Regions from separate parts of the Homo sapiens genome. Here regions 1 and 3 are each linked to region 2. The links are contacts of gene promoters, found by promoter capture Hi-C in human tissues and cell types (Jung and others, 2019). All regions are on one chromosome and are shown on one strand. Each heading gives the region's core, a stretch centred on a gene start or on the middle of the fragment in contact. The rest is flanking DNA. Distances are from core to core; before and after follow the strand shown.

Region 1 (2,700 bases), core at 165-2,664, 63 kb before region 2:
TAATAATGACACCGGGACTCAAAGCAATTCTGGTGGGGTGGGGTTGTCTTGCCCCAGGTCACACAGCTCAGGAATGGGGGCATCATGGCCCGAAGCCAACTCTTGCCACCAACTATTTCCAGCGTTTTTCTGTTTGAGGCTCTCAACATAAAGATAGGTGCCATGTTTTGAAGGTCCTGTTACTACACACAATTATAAAGATAGGTGCCATGTTTTGAAGGTCCTGTTACTACACACAATTACAAAGATACGTGCCATGCTTTGAAGGTCCTGTTACTACACACAATTATAAAATGACTTAAAGGGTATTCCAGGTCTGGAACCGGTCTGGAAAAGGTCTGGTACAGACCTGCATGCTACAAAGCAATCTCAACTCTGCACTCCATCTGACATCATTCCATCCTGCTTCCAGGCCAATGAATGACTCTGGACTCACCACTGACTTAGACCCTGAACGCTGAAGGGACAGTGGGTTCAAGACACGCAATCCAGAAGCCTTAAGTTGTGCTAAATTGATTTCACCTGGCTGTTCTCGGCTCCCAGCAAGGCTGTCCTTCAACTGCATGAGCTTCCTCCTGAAATAATACCACTGTAGTTTAATACTTACACTACAGATGGGATTGTTGGCTTCAAAATGCCCATGCTGAGTCCATTTATTAAACAGAATACTCAGATTACATTTCCACTTAAAGTCTTCTCTTACCAAAATATGAAAGATGGGCATTTTAAATGAAACCTAAAGACAAAAGCAGGGGGTAGGGAATGGAGAAGGGGGCAGTGTGTCTCCACAAAGCCCATCTGCAAAAATGTCAGAGTATTTCTTTTTTTTATTTTTATTTTTGAGATGGATTTTCGCTCTTGTCCCCCAGGTAGTCCAATGGCATGATCTTGGCTCACTGCAACATCCGCCTTTTGGGTTCAAGTGATTCTTCTGCCTCAGCCTCCCGAGTAGCTGGGATTACAGGTGCCTGCCACTGCGCCCAGCTAATTTTTGTATTTTTAGTAGAGACGGGATTTCGTGTTGGCCAGGCTGGTCTCCAACTCCTGATCTCAGCTGATCCGCCCGCCTCAGCCTCCCAAAGTGCTGGGATTACAGGCATGAGCCACTGCGCCCAGCCAAATGTCAGAGTATTCTAACTAAATATCATTGAGTATGTACACAGGACTTAGATTTGATTAGTAACAGGAAGAAAAGTTGGGGGAGGAAAGCAGGAATCACATATTATCGTGGGCTACATGGTAACCCAGTGAATCTTAAACCTAGAAACTGTTGACATACACAGTTTCATGATATGGCAAACTAAACAGGGAACATAAAAAAGCCATCTTAATACCTCAATTTCAATGCAATAAACTTCGGTCAATTGTGCCTCTTATTTAGGAACCAGAACTCTGAAGTTCTATAGAGTTTAGGGTTCTACCAAGTACCTAAAATTATTGAAAAAATTCTTATAATCCTCTGTGAATTGCCCAATCCAAGGTATCTTTAGTTGGAGCCAAACTGAGTCTCTTTAAACATGAAGACTATAGCACACAGGCACAAATTTCCGTCTACTCTTTTAGAAATGTTACTGAGCCGGGCACTGTGACGTGCGCTGTAGTCCCAGCACTTAGGAGACTGAGGCAGGAGGATTGCTTGAGCCCAAAAGTTTGAGGCCAGCCTGGACAACATAGAGAGACCCTCGTCTCCAAATAAAAACATCATTTAAAAAAGAGATGTTACACCAGGCGCAGTGGCTCATGCCTTTAATCCCAGCACTTTGGGAGGCCGAGGCAGGCAGATCATGAGGGCAGGAGATCGAGACCATCCTGGCTAACATGGTGAAACCCCGTCTCTACTAAAAATGCAAAAAATTAGCCAAGTGTGGTGGTGTGCGCCTATAATCCCAGCTACTAGGGAAGCTGAGGCAGGAGAATCACTTGAACCTGGGAGGCGGAGGTTGCAGCGAGCTGAGATCACGCACTCCAGCCTGGGCAACAGAGGGAGACTCCGTCTCTTAAAAAAAAAAAAAGAAAAAAAAAAGAGATGTTACACACACATAGCAAAGTACATTAGATGATAAAAAGAAGGACCCTTAAAAACTGAGGTCAAATGCTACACATCCTTACATCCTAAGTATGATAATGAATACATTATGAGATACTAATTTTCAGTAACCACAGGGTAACTGTCCCTACTTGAGAAAGGCCGTAGATACATTATTAACTTCGGTAGAAAACGATTTATGACAGTGACGTTACTGAACCTGAGTTTTGAGTCTATTTTACTATGTGAATAGCTTGCGTCCCGCCAGGGTACCCAAGCTTTGACCTCAAGGGTGATGTCTCAGGTGAGCTTTCAGAGCCTATGAGGCACCAACATCCGCACAAAATGGGACTTCATTCCTAGTCAGATTGTCACATTCAGACATGTCCACACTTTTGCAAATCCCACGTGTTGTTAAAGATGGATAATTCCCTTTATTTCACTCCAAATCAAAAGTGTTTTTGTTTTTTCTTCCATCCCCAAACCGTCTAAATAAGTCATACCGTTGTTAAAAATTCACGGACTTCTGAGAGTTATCAATAAGTTAAAGTCACCTCAAATAGAGGAAATCAAACCTACATTCATTTAAGTCTTTTCTGTGTTTTCTACGTGTGTATATATACAGGCACAAGCATTCACTTAAAAAATAATGGGGAACACGTGTTATTTTATGA
Region 2 (2,759 bases), core at 163-2,662:
ACCTGTCATTCCTTCTGGAAACGCAGCGCCTGCCCAGGTTTTTCCTGGCTCTGAGCGAGCTACACCCCAGGCTTTCTCTGCCTCGGGAAGGCGGTGCCTGCTCGGGCCGCTGCCGCAGGAGGACTGGGTACCAAACCCGCTCGCTCCAGGCACCGCTGGCATCCAGGGCGGTACGCGACGGGGAACCCGAGGGTGGCTGGGCTCCCCGGCGGGCTCCACCACGAGTCCTGGCCTCACAGCTGACTTTCCGCATCTCGGAGCTCCGGAGGCCCGGCCCGGGGTCCATTCTCCACGGATCCCCCTCCGCGCAGCTCCTCCGCCTCGGGCTGCATGGCTCCCACCGGAAGAGTGCGCAGAAAGGCTCAGCCGCCGTGGGCAGGGCGCGGGTTTTATTATTGCGCATGGCGCAGTCGCCTCCCCTGGAGACCCGCGACAAAGATGCAAGCCCCCCGCCGCGCTCGCCGCTGCTCTGGCCCCGCCCCGGCGCGAAAGACCCTGAAAAGCCTCCAAAGAGGGGTTCGCACTCCTGAGTTTGCAGATGCGGCTGGATGGGCTGGGAAGTTCTCTCGGCGGAAATCGGAGGGACCCCCCCACCCCCACCCCCACCCCCAAAGACCCGCGCCTCCCGGCGCAGGTGGCCCGGCACGCCCGTACCTTGGTGGCGGGGTCCGAGGCAGCGATGGCGGGGTCCGCGGTGGTGTCTGGCGCCGCCTCGGCCGAGGGGCCGCCGCCGCTGGGCTCGGGCTCAGCCGGCGTGGAGCTCCCCTCGGGCGGCTGCTCCGGGCTGCGCTGCTCGGTGGAGCTCCCGGCGCCCATGGCTCCTCCGCACTTCTCCCGCGCCTAGCCGCCGGGTTACGCCTTCCCCAAGCCGCAGGGACAGGGGCAAGAGCCAAAAGACGCGCGCCCGCGAGGTCCCGAGAGCGCCTTCCTTCGCCGCCAGCCGACTGCGAACGCGCCCAGCCTGCGAATGAAGGAGACGCGCTCGCGGCAAACTCCTTAAAAGAAAAGGAAAAAAAAAAAAAGGCCACCTCTTAGCCTCCGCCCCCCTCCCCCCGGTTTTTCCCTCGCTTCATCACATGAGCACAGCCCCAGACACGCCCTGCAGCAGCATCTGCCCCCAGGCTGCCGGGACCAGAGGCGCTGCGACGCGCCAGCCCAGGTCCAGGCAGCCGCCCACCCGGCCCTCGGGCGCCTCCCGTTTCTAACAGGGCGACTAGAGCTGCGGGGACGACCCAGGGCCTCAGAAGGCAAGAGAGCAGGGGAGCAAAAAGCCTGCCGGGGACACTGGATTCTCTGGGGTTTATTAAATGATGGATCACCCAAGGCAGGAGCTTCTGCTGCAGCCGACTTTCAGCTCGCCCAGGAGCGAGTCCGAGTCCCCATTTGCTTTCCTGCAGATTGTGTTTAACTCCAAACATTTGTTCCAGCCTCCTCCCCATTAGCAGGAGAAAGGCAAGCGCTCCCTGGCTCCTCCTGAGTCCGACCATATTTGGGCACCTCACGTGGCAAGAGCAGGGAACCGAGAGGTTAACGCAGTCAGGCCACGGATGAGGTGGGCCACGCAGGCCCACGCTCTCCTATCCTCCGGAACAAGTGATGTCAGGCGATGCCATCAGCAGTGCTAGCCGCCCCCCTTCCCCCGGGGAACGGGGGGAAATGAGGCTGTTACCGGAAATGTGCCCGTCCTTCTTTGAGGGCCTGTGCTGGAAGTTACCCATCCAGGCCACCTCTGCTCCGCGCGATGCCGACACATGACAGCATAGATCTGTTCCTTTGCCGTCAGCCTTTCTCAAAAGATGAAGACTTTAAATAATACCAGCACAAGTGGCTTGCATCCTTTCATTTCCGACCCTTGAATATAATATGTATTACATGAGCATGGCAGCCAATCAATAAGTATTTGAACTAAATTAAATTTGTAGCTGGATTGCTTGGCGCAAAGCATTAAGGCTTTGGGGCTGAAAGACAAAATTTATTCCAGTTGTAACTAGCAACCGAGTGCCCCAGTTTTCACAAATACTTTGAATCTCCATTAAGAATGAAGAAACCAGCCTGGTTAACATAGCGAGACCTTGTCTCTACAAAAAATAAAAAAATTAGCCAGGCGCAGTGGTGCACCTGTAGTCCTAGCTACTCAGGAGGCTGGGGACGCTGGGGTAGAAGGATGACTTCAGCCCAGGAATTCGAGGCTGCAGTGAGCTATGACTGTGCCTCTGCACTCCATCCTAGTCGACAGAGCAAGATTCTGTCAAAAAAAAAAAAGAAAGAAAGAAGGAAGAAACTTTCGGAATATTCACACCAAATTCCAGATAAATATCTCATACTCAGATTTAGTACAATTTTGTAGAAAGGGTGTAAGCAGTAGTTCAGCACTAGGATGTTTCATGCCTAATGAATTGCATGAATCGAATGGTACCCTGGGAACCATAGGTTAGTTACTCACCATCAAATTTGTTTTCTGAATTAATTTTTTTTCTTTTTCTTTTTTTGAGACAAGGTCTCGCTGTGTTGCCCAGGCTAGTGTTGAACTCCTGAGCTCAAGCGATCCTCCTGCCTTGGCCTCTCAAAGTGCTGGGATTATAGGTGTGAACCACCACACTGGGCCTGTTTTCTGAATTAATTATTTTTATTTAAAGGACTACACGAAGGCCAATTTCTCTGGAGTTTATCTCTTAAGAAACAGTATATTTGCAAAATGCTTAGTTTTAGGAATTTATACACATTTCCCCCATTTTGACTTAAATTTTGACTATTTAGGA
Region 3 (2,706 bases), core at 66-2,565, 61 kb after region 2:
GTTTGGATGGGGCTGAGGCTACATTCTTCTGCCCCTATCCACTCCAGGGGTGGGAACATGACCCAGGTCTGCAGAATCAGAGGCACAGGGAGTCAGGTAGGTTGAGGGTTTCTCTGCAGCCCTAAGGAAGAAGGTATTTTCCACCTGGGTTGCTGAGCTGATAGGATGTACATCCACAGCTGCCAGACACCACTCCTTGCCTTATGAAAATGCAATGAACTCAGGAAAGCAGAGCTGAGACCGCATCCTAATGACATCATTTGGTCTCCATCCAGCCTTCCCTGAGCTTACTTCTTGCCTTTTTAATTACATGATTCAACCACCAACCTCCTCCCCACCCACTTTTTTTTTGTTTTTCCAAACAGGGTTGATTTTCCATAACTTGTAGTTAGGAGTCATGACTTGCATACCAAATCGGATTCATTTCTTAACACCCCACTCATACTTCATCTCCCTCATCAAACCTTTAATCATTTACTGCAGCACACAAATTTTATCAGCTCTGAATCTACAAAGAACTTAATGTCTGTGCTACATGGTTTTATTTAATTAAATAAATAAATAAACAAACAAATAAATAAATAAATTTTTGAGACAGGGTCTCACCCTGTCATCCAGGCTGGAGTGCAGTGGCATGATCACGGCTCACTGCAGCCTCGACCTCCTGGGCTCAGGTGATCCTCCCAGCTCAGCCTCCCTGGGACTAAGGCTACACAGTTTTAGAAATTATTCTGCACATGCTGACCGTGAAGCACTTCAGGAAATTGTGAATTGATGAGTCCTGGGTATTAGTTTTCTTCCTTTGTTTCCCCCAGTCACACTGCATCACACAGGCCAACTCAAAACCCCGCGAGCTTTTTCCTGGTCTCTCATGGGTTGATCTCACTGGGTTCTCACAGCCACCCTGGGGAAGGTTAAGTCACTTGCTGAATGAAGGTCACCTGGTAGGATTTGGGGGAGGTGGCGAGTGCTTATAGAACTGTACCTTTTTAATAGTTAGGATTAAACTTGCTTACAATGACAAAAACCCAAAATAACAATGGCTTAAGTTAGATTGAAGTTTACTTCTCTTTCACATAAAAGAATGGAGGTGGGCAGTCCAGGGTAGGAGCTGCACCCCTCAGAGTCAGATCCCCGGGATTCTCCCATGGGTAGTTCTGCCACGAGCGACTTCCACTTCCAAACTCACCTCCTGATTCAAGATGGCTGCCAAGGCTCTAACAGGCAGGGAAGAGGAATGGATTGTCCTTTTCCTTTAAGACTCCCTGTCAGAAACTGCACTTGTCCTTTCTGCTTGCATCCCACTAGACAGAATTTACTTACATGAAACTGCCATAAAGGATTCCATAAGTACAGTCTCTGTTCCACATGGCTACAGTCTTATCTAGTGGAAGGAGGCAGGAGGGTTGTCTTACTGAAGAAGGGAAATGGGCATTGGGGCATCACTAGAAGCTTCTGGTCCTGGTTGCTCAGCCCAATTCCACCCATAGGTTGTTTATTGTTTCATATTTGTGTTCTCTCTCCCAATAGTCTGTGAATTCCTGGCAAGCAAAGGTGGTAGGCAGTTCTCTCTTGCGTTTTCAGCTCCTTGGATTGTGCTTTTTACATTGTATGTTTTTCCTTTTCTTTGGGACTGAGTCTTGCTCTGTCGCCCAGGCTGGAGTGCAATGGCATGATCTTGGCTCACTGCAATCTCCACCTCCCTGGTTCAAGTGATTCTCATGCCTCAGCCTACCGAGTAGCTGGGATTACAGGCGCCTGCCACCATGCCTGACTAATTTTTGTATTTTCAGGTAGAGACAGGGTTTCACCATGTTGGCCAGGCTGGTCTCGAACTCTTGACCTCAGGTGATCCACCTGCCTCGGCCTCCCAGAGTGCTGGGATTATAGGCGTGAGCCGCTGTGCCCAGACTACATTGTATTTTGATGATAATAAATCTATAGGTGTTAAGGAGAGAAGTTGTAAAAGGAAATCAAAAGCTACATGTTACACAGCTTAATTATCCCCCAAAAATACCACCAGTATGAAGCTGGGCTCATGGTCTTGCATTGCTAATTTTTTTCTTGAGATTGGTTCTTGCTATGTTGCCCAGGCTGGACTCAAACTCCTAGGATTAAGGGATCCTCCCACCTCAGCCTCTTTAGTAGCTGGGACTACAGGCGTGCACCACTTCCCCCTTGCTCAGGCTTTGAAATCAGATGATTCAGTTCTAGAATCCTGGCTTTACATCTTAAGAGCTGACTGGTCCTGGAAAAGTGAGTAAAAGCTCTCTGAGATTTGCTTTCTTTATCTGCTAAGATAGGGATAATGGTATCTTCCTTGCATTGTGAGAATTCCAAAGATGATTTATGTAAAATGCTCAGCACATTACAGGTTTCATTTATTCCTTTCTTTGGTCTTCAGTCTGTGATAATGGACTGGGGTTGGTCTATGCCAGGCTGTGTGTCTAATTTAGCAGATCAGAATTACTCAAAGGCATCAGAAATGTGTCTTCTCCTTCTCTGACTTGTACACTTAAGACTTAATCTTTGTCCATCTAAAGCAAAACAAAAAATGATGCCAAATATAATTACAATGTTAATGTAAGAAATATCTAGTTTTGCACACATGGCTGAATAAGTAGCATCTACTGGAAGATTTCCTTTGCAGTGACTTGCAAATAGCAACTGTAACTTAATTACTCAGAAAAATTCCGGGAACAATCC

Evidence for each region. The method cuts DNA at HindIII sites, captures the fragments that hold promoters and counts their contacts. A contact is called where the count stands out against the background at its distance.
Region 1: a fragment that was not itself captured here is called in contact with the fragment with the promoter of AKAP12 in region 2 in 1 of the 25 tissues and cell types used here (mesenchymal stem cells).
Region 3: a contact is called between a fragment that was not itself captured here and the fragment with the promoter of AKAP12 in region 2, in 2 of the 25 tissues and cell types used here (aorta and mesenchymal stem cells).

The regions. Positions count from the first base shown.
Region 1 is chr6:151,301,332-151,304,031 of GRCh38, reverse strand. The region is part of intron 2 of AKAP12 (A-kinase anchoring protein 12); the gene reads right to left. Among named protein-coding and RNA genes, the nearest start is that of AKAP12, 63 kb to the right of the region's middle. The HindIII fragment of the contact is 3,419 bases long and covers 1-2,700 here.
Region 2 is chr6:151,238,620-151,241,378 of GRCh38, reverse strand. AKAP12 (A-kinase anchoring protein 12) reads right to left here and starts at 1,412. Exons shown (of 5, transcript NM_005100.4): 1 at 1,320-1,412; 2 at 655-995. The coding sequence starts at 816. RefSeq lists enhancers at 445-1,022, 1,100-1,609. The HindIII fragment of the contact is 7,486 bases long and covers 1-2,759 here.
Region 3 is chr6:151,177,080-151,179,785 of GRCh38, reverse strand. No RefSeq gene overlaps it. Among named protein-coding and RNA genes, the nearest start is that of AKAP12, 62 kb to the left of the region's middle. The HindIII fragment of the contact is 8,350 bases long and covers 1-2,706 here.